Regions from separate parts of the Homo sapiens genome. Here region 2 is linked to region 1. Evidence: promoter capture Hi-C in human tissues and cell types (Jung and others, 2019). All regions are on one chromosome and are shown on one strand. The core of a region is centred on a gene start or on the middle of the fragment in contact, and the rest is flanking DNA. Distances in the headings are between cores, read along the strand shown.

Region 1 (4,229 bases), core at 1,705-4,204:
AAGGCTGAGAGGCCCCGTGCTGGGGGTGAAGCTAATTCATTAGTTACGCCTCAACAAGGACCGGGTGCCTGCAGTGCCAGCGTGATTCATCATGATGATTGCCCCACTGCCAGCCTGCGTGGGCCTGGAACGCCAGCACATTTTACCTTTACCCACTGAGAAGGGCCTGGTGGGAGGTGAAGGTACAGGATCTGCCGAGAGCAAGAAAAAGACTCTGAGAAAGAAGAGGGCTGGTCCTCCATGCTCTCGGCCCCAGGAAGCTCTGCCAGGCTGGTGCCGGGGTGGAGAGGCTCATGTGGGCTCATGTGGTGCTGCCTGTGCTGATGGAGCCCAAGAGGGCAGCCTGGCGCTGGGTGCCAGCCTGAGCATGTGGCGAGGCTGGGCTGCTGAGCCTCCTCCTCCACAGCCAATGTTCCCTCAAACTGCTTGGGGGTGGGGGGAGGGACTCATCCTCATCCCATTAGCCTGGCTGGGTATTCCCTACCTTTCTGGTCTCTGAGAGACTTACCTCTTCCAAGAAGTCCTCCCGAATGAGTAGAAGGGAGAGAGCTGGATTGGAACTTAAGTGACATCTGGGAGGAGCCTGAAGCCCCTCCGGTTGGGGCTGAGACTCCTATACCCTAGGTCTGGTGTCTGGGTTCCACCTGGGTCCTCTACCTTGGCCTGGATTCCTGCTTTCGTTTTGCCAGTCTCTCCCAGGATGGGGGTGCATGGCTGGTTCGTGGCTCAGAGCAACATCTGCCTCTGTGTCCCCCCATCATCTGTCCGCCCCCTAACACCTCTTGCCATATTAGAATTGCTATTGCTCTGTCCTTTCATTCATGTATCCAACAAATATATATTATCTGAAAAAAAGCATGTGCTGAATAATTTCATTTGTGTGAAATTCAAGAACAGGGAAAACTGATCCATAAGGATAGAGGTCAGGATCATAGTTGCCTCTGTGAGGTGGGGATTGACCGCAAGAGGCTTGAGAGAACTCTTGGGTTGATGGAAATGGGACAGGGGTGTGTACATTTGTCAAAACGCATCCAAGAAGACACTTACGATCTATGCATTTCACTGTATGCAATGTTTGCCTCCACTTTTTTTGTTAAGTTTTTTTCAGCAAGGCGCAGTGGCTCATGCCTATAATTCCAGCACTTTGGGAGGCTGAGGCAGGTGGATCACCTGAGATCAGGAGTTCGAGACCAGCCTGACCAACATGGTGAACCCCTGTCTCTTCTAAAATACAAAAATTAGCTGGGCGTGGTGGTGGGCACCTGTAATCTCAGCTACTTGGGAGGCTGAGGCAAGAGAATCGCTTGAACCCAGGAGGCGAGGCGGAGGTTGCAGTGAGCCAAGATCACGCCATTGCACTCCAACCTATGCAACAAGAGCAAAACTCTGTCTCTAAATAAATAAATAAATAAATAAATAAATAAATAAATAAATAAAAATTTGCATGGAATGTCTACTGTATGCTCTAGAGCCTGTGCCAGCAGGGAAGGAGATGCCCAAACCTCCCTGGCTGGGCAGCTTACTTTCCAGTGGGGATGGTTCCCTTCCTCCCGTTGCATTGGCAACTGCTCTCTGCCCTTGGGCTGTCTTCCATCCCCCTTCCCCTGCAGTGGGGATGGCAATGGGGGTGGGCCAAAGGGCAGCGTGCTCTCCTGAAGTCAGTCCACTCAGCCAGTTACATGGGTCACACCAGCCGGGTTCAAGAGAAGGCAGGAGGCAGGAGGCTTGGAGCCCGAAAATTTGGCTCCCGGGCTGCAACCTCTATGCATTGTGTGACCGTAAGCAGGGTGCCTAATCCCCGCGAGGCCACTTCTCTCATCTTTCATGTGGGATTATAGTGCTGTCTTTGTAGCTTTGTCCAGAGAATCAGAGGCTCTGTTGTGAGAAAATTCATTGCTGGAGGTGGAGTGAACCTTGTTTCCATCTATCGGTATGGTTTATGGTTAGGAACACAGGCTCTGGAGTCACACTACCTGGCTTCGAATCCAGCTGCTCATCAGCTGGGTGACCTTGGGCACTTCACTCAGCTCAGACTGACCCAGCTCAAGTCATGTCTCTTTGACCCTCAGTTTCTCCATCTTTAAAATCGGGGTGATGAGGGTGTCTACCTCATAGGCTGTGCCAAGGACTCAACGCAATGCTTTCAGCATAGTGCTGGGCACACGTGGGCTCGAAGCCAGTGACAGCCAGTGCTTTTCTGCCAGGAGCTCCCGCAGGAGGGCTCCGGATGGGAGGTGGGGGGAGAAGGCAGGGGGGAACTGCTGCTGGTGGTAGCAGGCGAAGGAAGAAGAGTCATGGAATGAGAGTGGCCATGATTGGTGGCTCAAAGGCGTTCACGTGTCCCAGTCCTCTGTCCACCGCAGCCACACACAGACTTTGAGCGTCGGTGGAGGGATCCTGGCAGGAGAGAGGGGTGTGAGTGTAGCAATGAGGAAGCTGTAGGGCAATTAGGCGGGGCGGAGCCAAGCCCTGGGGCCCGGTAAAACCAGCAGATGTGAAAAGGGCCGGACAGTAACACTGTTTCGAGTTACTACACTGAAGTGATCCCAGCAGGTAGGCCGGCCGCACGCCGCTGGACGTGAATGGCTCGCAGTGACCGCGCCCCTCAGCCCCTCCTTGTGAGCCTCTAGTCCAGAGTCTTTGATCCACCGCCAGCGTTTCCTTCGCCTTCTTGGACCCGCGGCTCTGGGGCGCACACAACCGCACACCAAACAGCGTCGGGCGTCGGGTCTCAGTGCCAGGCTTGGCCGGGGCGGGGAATCTCTCGGCTTGTGCTTGCTCCGCGGTGGGCTGGATGGGCAGGTAGGGGGCGGGCTCCGGCGCTGGGACCCCACTAGGGTGGCGCCTTGGCCCCGCCCCGCCCCGCCCTCCCTCCGCCTCATTGGCAGCCGCACGCGCGTCGGGGTTGCCAGGGCGACGGGTCGCTAAGCTGCGAGTCAGCGCGAACCCTAGCCAGTCGGCCTCCGGCGGAGGCAACGGGGGAGGCCCGAGGGCGGGCGGTGGAGCGCGGCGCGCGGCGGCGGTGCCCCAAGTGGGTGCCTCCTCCCGGCCCCGCACGGCCCCCCTCCCGGCGCGGGGGAAGGCCGGGGCGGGGGGCCCGGGGGCCGGCGCGGCTCCGGCACCGTCGGGGCGGCTGGGGGGCGGCCGGGGCGGGGCGATGCCTGGCGGTGGCAGTGGCGGCGGCCCCGGCCGGGGCCCGTGACCATGGGCATCGCCGAGTCCACGCCGGATGAGCTGCCGTCGGACGCAGAGGAGCAGCTGCGCAGCGGCGACCAGCAGCTGGAGCTGAGCGGGCGGCGGTTGCGGCGGCTGCCCAGCGCAGTGTGCGCGCTGAGCCGCCTGCAGAAGCTGTATGTGAGCGGCACGGGGCTGCGCGAGCTGCCGGAGGAGATCGAGGAGCTGCGCGAGCTGCGCATCCTGGCGCTGGACTTCAACAAGCTCGAGCGACTGCCTGACGGCCTGTGCCGCCTGCCGCGCCTCACGCGCCTCTATCTGGGCGGCAACCGGCTGCTGGCGCTGCCCGCCGACTTCGCGCAGTTGCAGAGCCTGCGCTGCCTCTGGATCGAGGGCAACTTCTTGCGGCGCTTCCCGCGGCCGCTGCTGCGCCTGGTGGCGCTGCAGTCGCTCCAGATGGGCGACAACCGGCTGCGCGCGCTGCCGGCCGAGCTGCCGCGCATGACGGGCTTGCGCGGCCTCTGGCTCTACGGCAACCGCTTCGAGGAGTTCCCGCCCGCGCTGCTGCGCATGGGCCGCCTGCACATCCTCGACCTCGACCGCAACCGCCTGGGCGGCTTCCCCGACCTGCACCCGCTGCGCGCGCTGCGCGTCTTCTCCTACGACCACAACCCCGTCACCGGGCCCCCGCGCGTCGCGGACACCGTGTTCCTCGTGGGCGAGGGCGCCGTCGAGCGCATGGCGGAGCGCGACGAGCCCACGCCCCGGCCTCCGCCCCGGCGCCCAGCGCGGGCCTTTGAGGATGAGGAGGAGGAAGACCTGCTCATAGGCGGCGCTGGTTCCCGGGCTCTGGGCGCCCCCGGGGGCAGCTTCCGCGCCCTGGAAGCCGCTCCAGGACTGGGCACCTGAGCCTATGTTCTGGCTGATGGGCTTCAGCCACTCTGAGAGGAGGGGCTCTAGGAAGCTTTGGCTGGTTAGGCCTGCGGGACTGGTGGGTCCCTACTTAGGTCAATGGAACGGCTACTTTTGGCGAGTTGCCGGGCACAGGCAGGGCT
Region 2 (4,098 bases), core at 768-3,267, 200 kb after region 1:
ATGTTAGGTTCTCTCTCTCTTTCTCTCTCTCTCTGTCTTTAACTCTGATAATTACAAGCTGAACATGTTAGGTTTCGAACTTAGTTCTGACAGATTTCAAAAGTGGGGATCATCAAAGCACTGGGCCATGGTGTGCAAATTCCTGGCCTCTCTACCTCCAGGACAATGTTGGGGCCCAGAAGAAAGTGGGTGAGAAAGATGATAGCACCTTAAGGCTCCGAGTCTTCTGTGGGATTATATTCCTGAGCCAGAGGCTGCAGACCCTTATAAACTGAGCATTGGGGGATGGGGGTAAAAGTGGATCCTAGGGAAATTAGAGATCATCTGGTCAACCCCCTCATCCTCCAGATGAAGACACTGAGTCTCTTAGAAGAGAAGTCATTTCCCCAGGTCCTTCCCCTTCTCACTTATAGCCAGGCCATGGCTGAGGTGCCCTCTGGGCCCCCGGTTGGGAGAGGGCTTCAGTCTCCTGGCTGCATCCTGAGAACGTAGCTTTCTGTGCTCTTTCCTGGAGGTGCGCCCTCCCTCCCACAGGATGCTGTACAGAGGTGGACGCAAGTCACACGGCCCCAGATGCATAGGGAGGTAGAGGGAAGCCAGGCTTGTCAATGCTAGGGAGCCCTCCAGTAGCAGGACCACTCACTGCATTACCACAGGCAAATCACCCACAGCCCCTTCCTGCCACAGTTGCCTCATCAGTAAAATGAAGATGCCACATTTCCTCCCTGCCTCGCCCACAGCGTGGTCGTTGGTAGCCAGTGAAGTTGCATATGTGGGCAGTTCAGGATAGGGCTTTGGATCCCAGGCATGGCCAGCAGATGGTGTGGAAAGAGGCCAGGGCTGGGAGTCAGGAGCCCTGGGTTCTGGGTGCAGCTCTGCTGTGGCTCCTACGTTCTCCTGTTTCTGTCCTTCTCAGGCCGTGCTCCGAAATGGTTTCTCTTTCAGGCAGCAGGGACGTGGTGAGCTCCCCCAACCTGCCAAACCTTTACTCAGTGCAGGGAACCTGGCAAGGAAGAAAACAGGCGAGACCCCTCCCCTGAGAAGCCACACCCTGGTGGAGGGAGCCAGATGGTAAACACATTCACCAGAACTTTAGATGGTGAGAAGTGCTGATAGGAAAACTGAGTCCTATGATGGGGGCGCTTGGGGTACCTAAGATTTGGCAGGCAGGTCCCAGGAGGGGATGTTTGAGCTAGGAGCTGAATGACAGGAGGGAGCCAGCCACGCAAAGCTCTGGGGGTGGGGGTGGGGTTGGGGTTCTCTCCAGGCTAGAGGAGGAGTGAGGACAAAGGCGTTCGGCACGCCTGGCCTGTTGCAAGAACAGAGAGAAGGCCAGGGTGCCTGGGAGGCTGGTGAGGGCAGGCAGAGGCCAGGCCACAGGGCTGGCAGGCCAACGTAAGAGGGAGAGGGCTTTCTAAGTGTGATGAACAGTGTAGAATGACTGGAAATGGTGAGTGGGTAGATGGAGGATGGAGGAATGGATGGATGGATGGATGGATGGATGGATGGATGGATGAATGGATTGTAGGTGCAGCTATGGGGTGATCCCTTTTCTCCCCATCATGAGGGTCATAGGCAACACTCCTGTAACAAAAGACAGGTTAACAAGAGGAAAGCATAACAAATGTATTTAATCAAAGTTTTACGTGACATGGGAGCCTTCAGAATGAAGATCCAAAGATCCAGGGAAACTCCATTTTTATGCTTAAGTTTGAGGAGGAATGGGCAACTATGAAGAGCTATGATTGGACACAAAGAGTAAGACCCCATGGGAGCAGACTGAGTGGGGAAACCCAGCAAGGCCTGCTCTCAGATCCTTCTTGGCCTCTCTGTGCTGCATTCCTTCCTTCAGGGTATGGGGCAGGATTCTGAGTGGGGGTCTTATGATCTACTATCAAACAAAGTAGGTCAGAGAATTTCTTTTTTTTTTTTTTTTGAGATGGAGTCTCACTCTGTCACCCAGGCTGGAGTGCAATGGCACGATCTCGGCTCATGGCACCTCTGCCTCCCGGGTTCAACAGATTCTCCTGCCTCAGCCTCCCAAGCAGCTGGGATTACAGGCGCGTGCCACCATGCCCAGCTAATTTTTTATGTTTTTGATAGAGACGGGGTTTCACCATGTTGGCCAGGCTGGTCTCGAACTCCTGACCTCAGGTGATCTGCCTGCCTCAGCCTCCCAAAGTGCTGGGATTACAGGCGTGAGCCACTGTGCCCTGCCCGACCAAAGGATTTCTTTATGGCCAGCTCTTACGCAGAAAGGCAGGAGAAGGCTAATACTTTTAGGTTTTATGGGTGGCTTTAGGGGAAAGGAGTTCTGGTTTCTGTGACCTGCCTTGGGAAAGAGGAATTCTAGTTTCTATGGCTTGCCTCTGGGGAGAGTGAGGGGTGGGGAAGAGAATTCTAGTTTCTGTGGTTTGTGTCGGGAGAGTAAGGGATAGAGACAGGAAGGCAGGAGATGTTCAGAGAAAAGCTTTGCTTCTGAGGCTGTTTGTGAGGCGTTCACTTTGGGGTACCATTTTCTGAGCCCCAACATGTGGTTGGGAGAGTGGATGACTGGCATACAGAGACCCTCTTTCCATTCCCCTCCTGTAGTAGGTTGAATTAACTCTGAGAGCTCCTCTGCGTAGTCCTATTCATGGTCGGGCCCGGATGGCAGGAAGAGTGGGGAGCTGAATGTTCAGGAGAAATGCCTCAAACCCCCTCAAGCACATGATTGGGAACCCTCAGCGGTGGGAGCAGAGCCCACTGACTGCTCCTGAGTGGGACTCCTGGACTGACATCCTGACCTGCCGTGCCCGGGCTCGCCTGAGCTCGGGACTGGGCTGAGCTGAGACTGGGGGGAGGGGGAGGACACAGACTTCACCTGTGTTCACAGAGCCCAGGGCTGACTCCCGGAGCTGTTGCTCTGAGGGTGGGATGGGCAGCCCCAGGCCTCCGTTCTCAAGGCGTTCCTCTGGGATCCAGTGCCCCCTCTGCCCGCCCAATTGCACGGGCCAGACAGCTGGGGTCGTCTTTGACAGCGCCAGTGTTACAGCGAGCAGTAAACATCCTTAATACCTGCCCTGTCTGTCCCCATTTTGTCTGCTGAATTTCCATCTGGGCCACCCACTTCTCTTCACCCTCGCACCCACCTTGGCTTGTCATTCCCAGGCTCAGAGTCCAGGGCCTGGCCCTGCCAGCCTGCCTGCTTTGGCCTCCTCTCTGCTGGCCTGACTCTGGCCTTTTCTCCATCCTCCAGGCCTCCACTGTCCTCACATCCAGGCCCTGCTGCCGAGGGTATCCTCCAGTGCTTGTTCCGCTCTGCTCTCTCCTGTGGTTGCTTCCCTCTGCTAGTCCTTCAGAAACAGCTCCAGCTCCTAGTTCTATAGGCAGCCTCCCCGCCTGAGCACGTGTCAGAGGATTTTTCTTTGTTGTATGTGAAGGTTCACTTGAAGTTTCTTTCCTTCTGGTCTGCAGGCTCCATAAGGGCTGGCACCATGTCGGCTTTTGTCACCATCCACCCAATCCCTGGCACATAGTAGGCACTCTGGTGATTTGTGGATGGATGGAGAATGGCTGCATGCACTAACTTGACTTTAACCAGATTTCACCTGTGTTCACACCACCCAGGGCCCACCCTCAGGGCTGTTTCCAGCCTTTTCTACTCTGAGAGCCTGCCCCTGCCCTAAACCAGGGACTCTGGAACCAAGCCCTGGCCATCTGTGGGTGTTGGTGTCTTCACACCTGCCGAGGCCAGGACCACCTCCTGTCCTTGCTCCTGGGCCAGCCCAGCCTGGGGTTTGAGGCCTGGGCCTGTCTGGGATCTCTGGAGGAGGGAAGGGCTCACTCAGAAGCGTGCTACCAAATGGAAGAATGAAATCGTCAAGGACTCATCTGAGCAACTGCAGAACAGTCTAACAGGGCCCCTTTCGAAGTAGAGTACACCCCAGGGAGGCTTCCAGGGTGGTGACAAGTTTGGAAACCAGGCTGAATCAAGAATCGAGGACAACCGTAGGACTGAGAAGTTGGGGGCGGGGAAGGGACTCAGGATCAAATGGCTTTGGAGCCTTCACCCTTGAGCTGGGCTCCAGAGGGCAGTGGGCATGGAGGAGAATGAAT

What was found. Contacts are between HindIII fragments. The study calls those that stand out against the background at their distance.
Region 2: a fragment that was not itself captured here is called in contact with the fragment with the promoter of LRRC10B in region 1 in 1 of the 25 tissues and cell types used here (bladder).

The regions. Positions count from the first base shown.
Region 1 is chr11:61,505,795-61,510,023 of GRCh38, forward strand. LRRC10B (leucine rich repeat containing 10B) reads left to right here and starts at 2,955. Exons shown (of 1, transcript NM_001145077.2): 1 at 2,955-4,229. The coding sequence starts at 3,205. The coding sequence ends at 4,083. MIR4488 (microRNA 4488) reads left to right here and starts at 2,802; the gene lies at 2,802-2,863. It overlaps LOC105369329 (a long non-coding RNA gene), which reads left to right. Exons shown (of 3, transcript NR_188527.1): 3 at 1-855. The HindIII fragment of the contact is 12,437 bases long and covers 1-4,229 here.
Region 2 is chr11:61,702,202-61,706,299 of GRCh38, forward strand. The region is part of intron 1 of DAGLA (diacylglycerol lipase alpha); the gene reads left to right. Among named protein-coding and RNA genes, the nearest start is that of DAGLA, 24 kb to the left of the region's middle. The HindIII fragment of the contact is 5,242 bases long and covers 1-4,098 here.